Linked DNA regions of Homo sapiens: region 1 is linked to region 2. The links are contacts of gene promoters, found by promoter capture Hi-C in blood cells and fetal thymus (Javierre and others, 2016). All regions are on one chromosome and are shown on one strand. The core of a region is centred on a gene start or on the middle of the fragment in contact, and the rest is flanking DNA. Distances in the headings are between cores, read along the strand shown. Region 1 overlaps EGFLAM (EGF like, fibronectin type III and laminin G domains). Region 2 holds the start of OSMR (oncostatin M receptor).

What was found. Contacts are between HindIII fragments. The CHiCAGO score rates a contact against its expected background, and 5 or more counts as called.
Region 1: a contact is called between a fragment that was not itself captured here and the fragment with the promoter of OSMR in region 2, in 1 of 17 cell types (M1 macrophages). The highest score is 5.3, in M1 macrophages.

What each region holds. Positions count from the first base shown.
Region 1 is chr5:38,447,050-38,450,571 of GRCh38, forward strand. EGFLAM (EGF like, fibronectin type III and laminin G domains) reads left to right here. Exons shown (of 22, transcript NM_152403.4): 18 at 1,252-1,330. The region is part of intron 1 of EGFLAM-AS5 (EGFLAM antisense RNA 5); the gene reads right to left. Among named protein-coding and RNA genes, the nearest start is that of EGFLAM-AS5, 20 kb to the right of the region's middle. The HindIII fragment of the contact is 683 bases long and covers 1,337-2,019 here.
Region 2 is chr5:38,843,651-38,847,297 of GRCh38, forward strand. OSMR (oncostatin M receptor) reads left to right here and starts at 2,362. Exons shown (of 18, transcript NM_003999.3): 1 at 2,362-2,737. It overlaps OSMR-DT (OSMR divergent transcript), which reads right to left and starts at 2,179. Exons shown (of 4, transcript NR_109951.1): 1 at 2,018-2,179. The HindIII fragment of the contact is 5,506 bases long and covers 1-3,647 here.

The sequences.
Region 1 (3,522 bases), core at 428-2,927, 400 kb before region 2:
TTAATTTCTTTAAACCACCATTTCTGTATCTTTCCAAAGAGGAAAGAGATATTGCTGTTATTTCTCCAGCAGAAATCCCCTAGCCTCATCCCCCGTTCATGACATCACACACAGCTACTTAAACTCTTCTTTTGCTAACTATGTGTAAAAGGGTAATTCCTCAGGAAAACAAAGTGATGAGAGTTTGGGAGGAAGAAAATGCATTTCTAAAATATTGGAAAGTTGAGAGGGGGCCAGAAGCCAGAATTAAGAAGAGCTGGTCAGTTTCAAGGCCTAGTGCTCTCTTAACTACGTGATCTCAGGCAAATCCTCCATGCTTTCTACTCCTCACTTTCTTCTTCCATAAAATGAGAATAACCAACCCTTCCCTTCCCCCATACTACCTGCTACTTCATGAGATTGTAGTGAAGATCTTGTGAAATAGACCAGGCACAGTGGCTCATGCCTGTAATTCCCAGCACTTTAGGAGGCCGAGGCGGGTGGATCACCTAAGGTCAGGAGTTCGAGACCAGCCTGGCCAATGTGGTGAAACCCCATCTCTACTAAAAATACAAAAATTAGCCAGGCTTGGTGGCAGGTGCCTGTAATCCCAGCTACTTGAGAGGCTGATGCAGGAGGATTGCTTGAACTCAGGAGGTGGAAGTTGCAGTGAGCCAAGATCGCGCCATTTCACTCCAGCATGGGCAACCAGAGCGAAACTTTGTTTCAAAAAAAAAAAAAAAAAAAGATCTTGTGAAATACACTGGAAAGTGATCAGAAATGCGGGAGTCCAAGCCTCATTCATAGTGCTTTAGAGTCTCTCGAAGTCCTAGCTTAAAAGGTTCTGCAGCAAATTAGCTTTCAAGAATCCTAGTGGGCCTTATTTAGGGATTTGTTTTCTCTGCCTCCCTAGGAGAACATCTGGGGTTATCCCCAGCTGCTCCCCACATGGCCCAAGAGCTGCTCTTTGGCTTCCAAGAATAATTGGGAACAGTTCAAGTTTCAGCACATTGTGAGGCCTTCTCAGCAGCGCTGAGGCCAGAGGCAGGGACAATACTTCCCCAGGAGGGAAAAATGGGGGAGAAGCCAACCCCAGGCCATGGGGTTGGGCAACTGTGAACCTGGCCAAATATGCGTGCAGCCGAAGGGAAGGGGCTGATGAATTGTTAAACATCCTATTTCCAGGAGCTGGGTGTTTTCCTGCCATGTGTGTGAGTGCAGGGGTCAAGAGAACCACATACTATGTAACCTCCTTTTTCTGTTCTGTCCCAGCGATCATAGAAGCCATTGAGATCCCGCAGTTTATCGGCCGCAGTTACCTGACGTATGACAACCCAGATATCTTGAAGAGGTAATAAGCTTCAACAGGCACCTTCCTCAGCTTTCTGGGGGTAAATTTCTCTATATCTTTCTCAGGGCTTTTTCTTATATTTCATGCCAGAAGATAATTCTCAAAGAAGACCATTCAGCCATGGCCTCAGGGGAAAAACACACACAACAAGAAATAAACATAGAAACTAGAGCAAAATAAAACAAAAAACAAACTAAACTTGAGAAATTGACCTTTCAGATAACCCTGTTACAAAAGATCCAGTATCTTTCTGGTCAAAGGGCCTGGAGAGAGAGACACGACTGGTCCCAGAGTTTCCAGTATTCAGGCTTCGAGAAACAGTGAGAATGTGATGTTCCTGAAGCCTGAGTGATGACTATGATTCTGTGAGCAGGGCAGTTCCGTGCTGTGCCGTGGCCAGAGTGTGCAGCTCTGACCTGGGCCAGCAGCAGAAGGACAGACAGATCCAAGCCCATTCCCTGCTGAGTCCATACCTACCCTGCGTCTTCATCAGCAAAGGTCTCTTGTCCTCTTCAGGCTCTGGCCAGTTCAGTGAGAGGCTTCTCAGCTCTCTTCATGTGGATACAGGGAAATGCCCAAGTCACAGCCATGGCATCTCACCCCTGGTGGCAGAAGTCCCAGCCCTGGCCTGGAGTCCTCGCTCTTGGTTTGGAATAGCCTTTGACATGGCAAAATCCTCAACTCGGTCAAGCTTGTCTTTGGCACTTTCAGTTTGCCCCTTATCTCTTTCTTTCCCTTCCCCAGTTCTTTGTGGTTTCTAGTGTGCTATTCCCCTTTCTGCTCCCCACACAATCATTCTGGGATTTTCCTTCCTCTTCAGATTGACTGCATCTTAACACACAAGGGCAAATCTTTAAGCGAAAGGCATCCAGTTCTTAGGGTGGAGTTTGGTGGCTTTTCAGGGAACAAAATGTGGTTGGGAGGAATTCTCCTAGGGCATTGGATGTCCCTGGTAACGCCCAACACACACCAGGCAGACACTGCTTCACTTCTCTAATCCCAGGTTGTATTAATCTACGTTGTCTTGGCATGGGGACTTAGGTAAAATGGATTCCCAGCCAAGAGAGACCGTCCTCCTTCTTCAGCCCTTTCTCTCCAAAGATGGAAGGTCATTCAGTCCCTAGAAAGCAGTGACAGCGTGAAAGGGGCCCAAGCCTTCAGTCTCTGGGGGTTAGTGAGAGACCACTAGGTGGTTTGGGGGAGTAGAGGGGCTTGATGAGAGCAGGAGACATGAGGCCCAAAACCACAGCTACCTCAAGGGCCATAGTGTGTGTGTATGTGTGTGTGCGCATGCATGTGTGTGTGTGTGTGTGTATGTATATGAAAGTATAAATGCATGTGTGTGAGGCTGCAGGTAAAAGTCAAGTTCAGGGTCTATTTCAGTCAGATATCTTTGGTGCCAAGTAACAGAAAGTTCAGCTTAAAATGCCTTACCCATGAGGGATATTTACTATTTCATATCACAAGGAGTCCAGACTTACACTGGATCTTGGGTTGATTAATTAAGAGAAGCAGCTGTACCCTCAAATATTCCAATCTCATCCCTATTTCTTGCTTGCTGTCCTCAGCGTCTTCTCCAGAGGCCACTCCCCAGCTGCCCATAAGCTGCACATAAGATGACTCTGACTACATCCAGTGGAAGTCCAAAAGACTTTTTTTCTCATATGACTCTTTTTAAAAGAGAAGGAATTCTTCCCAGAATTGTATCTCATTGGACAAAAGGGATATGATTGTGTCTCTTCTGTGCTGCCACATGCCTGCCCCTAAACCAATCACTGGCAAGAGAAATGAGAACCTCTTGATTGGCTTGTAACCAATCAATATACCCAAGGCAAATGGGAGAGGGAAGGAACCTGAGCGAAAATCTGGGCAAAGCAGGTCTCTAGGGAATGGGTCAGTGCTAGATTGTGCTGAACCTGGCCTGGGGGGCCTCGCTCTTCCCTCACTGTTCTGAGGCCCTGCATGGGAAATGCAAACTTGGTCTCTTCCTGACGAGCTCAGGCTCTGGGAAGCCTAGATAATAGTTCCCTCCACTGTTCACGATTGAGGACACTGCAGACACAGACCCAGGTGTGTGAGACAGACAGAGGGATGGCTCAAGTGACTAGAGAATGGACAAAGAAACTTTTCCAATGACATTATGCTAGTAGCAATGTTAAATTATGTTTCCTCCTATCTCACCCTTGATTCAA
Region 2 (3,647 bases), core at 1,112-3,611:
ATAACCTATGTATCAGTTTCCTAAGGCTGCCATAACACATTACCACAAACTTGGTGGCTTAAAACAACAGAAATGTATTCTCAATCTGGAGGCCAGAAGTCTGAAATGAAGATGTTGGCAGGGCTAGCTTCTTCTTAGGGGTTCAAAGGGAGCCTGTTCCGTTCCTCTCTCCTAGCTTCTGGTGGTGGTCAGCAACCTTGCCATTCCTTGGCTTGAGTCAGCATAAGCAGGATCTGTCTCAGTGGTCACACAGTGTTCTTTCTGGGTGTCTGTGTCCAAATTCCCCCCTTTTCAGAAGTACAGCAGACACTGGATTAATCTTATATGACCTCAGGTTAACTTGATTAAAGCTGCAAAAACATTATTTCCAAATAAACTGATATTTGGAGGTTTTGGGTGGATCTGACTTTATGGACCCAGTGCACCCACTGTTAAGGGTATAATCGCGAATTTATATGGTGCTACTGCATCTAGATTCTAGAATAACGTATAAATTTAAGAAATTAGAATGGTGCAAAAACAGATAAATTATATGTGGGCACCAAATTTTTACACTTCAGTCTCCTTCAATTGCAATAGGAGCCCAAAATAAGCCTCACTTTTTAGAAATTCATACTGGGCTGAATATTTTTATTTGACATCTCATTTGCTAGAAGAGAGATCCCTTTTAACTGTTTCTATAAAGAATAATTTTTTTTCTCAGTAAAATATAAAATCATAAAGACTTTCCAACTCTTGGGCTTGGCAGTTTCCATAACCATGCAGATGGCTAAACTAATGGACTCTTTAAAACTCTTCAAGTAATGAGAGGTGTGGCAAAGGACCATACATTTATTGAGACAAAAATACATTTTATTATCATCAAATATTTACTATGCATCATGGTCTTTGTGGCCCCATTAGGTATTAAGTGTATTAGGGCCTTTAGGCCTTTGTTTTAGGAAAAATAAAAAAACAAAAGGACTCTCAGCTTTCCTTGGGATGACATTGGGGAGGAGCCAGATATGTGAACAAACACAAAAGTAACATTTTAAAATAATTCTGACATTATTTTGAGTCATCCAGTCAATTCAATATAGGATTCTAAGATATGTTTATGGTCGATACTTGTTGATCACTCTTGGTTCCCTCCCCCACCCCCCTCCTACAACCTTGCTTTTGTGATACTTTCCAGGGTCCCCAAACTCAAACCAAACTAGGCTCAGCTGATCTGGAGCAAGGCCCCTTGCCTGCTGATTTGTCAGGCATCCAGACAGGCGAGGCTATGGGAGCTCCCGGTCCGAGGCTGCCTCGGAAGGCTCCTGTTATCCTCTAAGAGAGGTGAAATGCACCTTTCAAAGGCCCAGACACGGTAAAGATTGGATGGCATTTTTGGCCGGGCGCAGTGGCTGACGCCTGTAATCCCAGCACTTTGGGAGGCTGAGGCGGGCGGATCACGAGGTCAGGAGATCGAGACCATCCTGGCTAACACGGTGAAACCCCGTCTCTACTAAACATAGAAAAATTAGCCAGGCGTGGTGGCGGTCGTCTGTAGTCCCAGCTACTAGGGAGGCTGAGGCAGGAGAATGGTGTGAACCCGGGAGGCGGAGCTTACAGTGAGCCGAGATCGCGCCACTGCACTCCAGCCTGGGTGACACAGTGAGATGCCGTCTCAAAAAAAAAAAAAAAAAAAGGTTGAAGATTGGATGGCATTTTTAAGGGGAAAAGTAAACCATGTGTAGCATGTCGTAGCATTGGGAAATAAAGGTTTCGGGACTGTTGTAGCCGAAGAAACTTTGTCGGACAGGGCGTTTCTGGATAGAACGCGAGTAGGGGAAAAATGGGGACCGTTTGATTCGGTTCAAACACGTTTTCGTTGCTCTGGACGCCAAATGGAAACACGGCCAAAATTTAGTTAAAGGACTTCTCTTGCCTGAAGATTTTCGGACGGGGATCTCACGGGTTTGGCCTCTGGGTTGGGATGACAAGTGCCCCTGTGGGATACACAGCCCCAGGCCTCATCGGTCACTCGGCTTACCTCTGGTTCCGCCGGCTGGCCCGTGCGTCCTTGGCCGGGGCAGGAGCAGCGCTGCGCGCGGGGCACGGAGCCTCGGCCGCCGAGTTTTCGGTTTCCAAGTTTCCTTCCCAGGCCTCTCCCACTTCCTCTTCTCACCAGTGCCCGCCCGCCCGCAAAGTCCGGGTTGTGAGGCTGCGCCTCCCCCAGGATCGCGGCCGCCTCCCCCCGGGACTGAAGGGAGGGAATTCCTGTGGGTCCCAGGAGTGCCAAGAGTGCGCAGCAAGACGGGAAATTGCAAAAGACCTCACCCCTCTGCCCTCCCCCGCGGTTTTCCAGTAACTCCCGCCCCTCCGCGCTTGCCCCGCAGCTGATTCATAGCCCCGGCCCGGGCCGCCTCTGCACGTCCGCCCCGGAGCCCGCACCCGCGCCCCACGCGCCGCCGAGGACTCGGCCCGGCTCGTGGAGCCCTTCGCCCGCGGCGTGAGTACCCCCGACCCGCCCGTCCCCGCTCTGCTCGCGCCCTGCCGCTGCGCCGCCCTCGGTGGCTTTTCCGACGGGCGAGCCCCGTGCTGTGCGGGAAAGAATCCGACAACTTCGCAGCCCATCCCGGCTGGACGCGACCGGGAGTGCAGCAGCCCGTTCCCCTCCTCGGTGCCGCCTCTGCCCAGCGTTTGCTTGGCTGGGCTACCACCTGCGCTCGGACGGCGCTCGGAGGGTCCTCGCCCCCGGCCTGCCTACCTGGTGGGTGAAAACTAAATGATTCATTCCTTACAGGCCGCACAGTGCCGAGTCGCCCATTTCTCAGACTGTTTGAAATTCACCATCCCAGCGCCTTTTTCTCAAATGATGGTGGAATGTTTGTTGAGTGGAAAATTCCCACTTGAATCCCTCTTTCCTCTCTCCCAACACATCGTGTGGAGGAGTTCATTGCTTCCCCTACCTCTCCTCTCGTAACCCTTGACTCCCACCTGAGAGAGCCATTTTTCTGGGAATCCGTGTATCTCTCCCACCTGGTCCCTAGCGTAGAAGCGGGAGGAGCTCAAGCACAGGTGGAGAGAGGAATCCCCGGGCGACTCTGCAATAGCGTCCGTCCGGGGCGCTTACCTTCTTCTCCAGCCACTTGAGTGGAAGTGGCCCTCTACATTCTGGAAACCTAGGCACGGAGGGGTTCAGTAACTTGTCCAAGGCCATATGGCTAGCTGTGAGGGCACTGAAATCCGAGCCCGGCTCTCGCAGGCCAGGGCTTTACCCCTGACACCGCGATTCCTTTCTCGATAGTTCTTCATCTGCCCTTCATCCACCTACCCATGCATGCCTGCATCCGTCCATCCATCCTGCCTGCCTTGCTGCGGGAGGCACAGTGCTAGGTGCTGCTGATGGAGTGGCTTGGTAACAGACCTGCCTTGAAAACACTTTGGGAACAAGATATTCAAGAGAAGTAAATGGAAGGGTCTATGAAGGCAGAGAAGATAGAATTGAATGTAGGATACTTAGTTTGAGCTAGAAGGAATTCTGATGGAGGAGAAAGAAATTTTTAGGTTTTATTCCCAAGATTAAAACTGACTTTGGAACATGGGTCAAACTACTTATCACCTCTTAGTTTCCTTGTCTGCAAATAATAATGGTTCATACTTACTGTGAACCAGCCCCT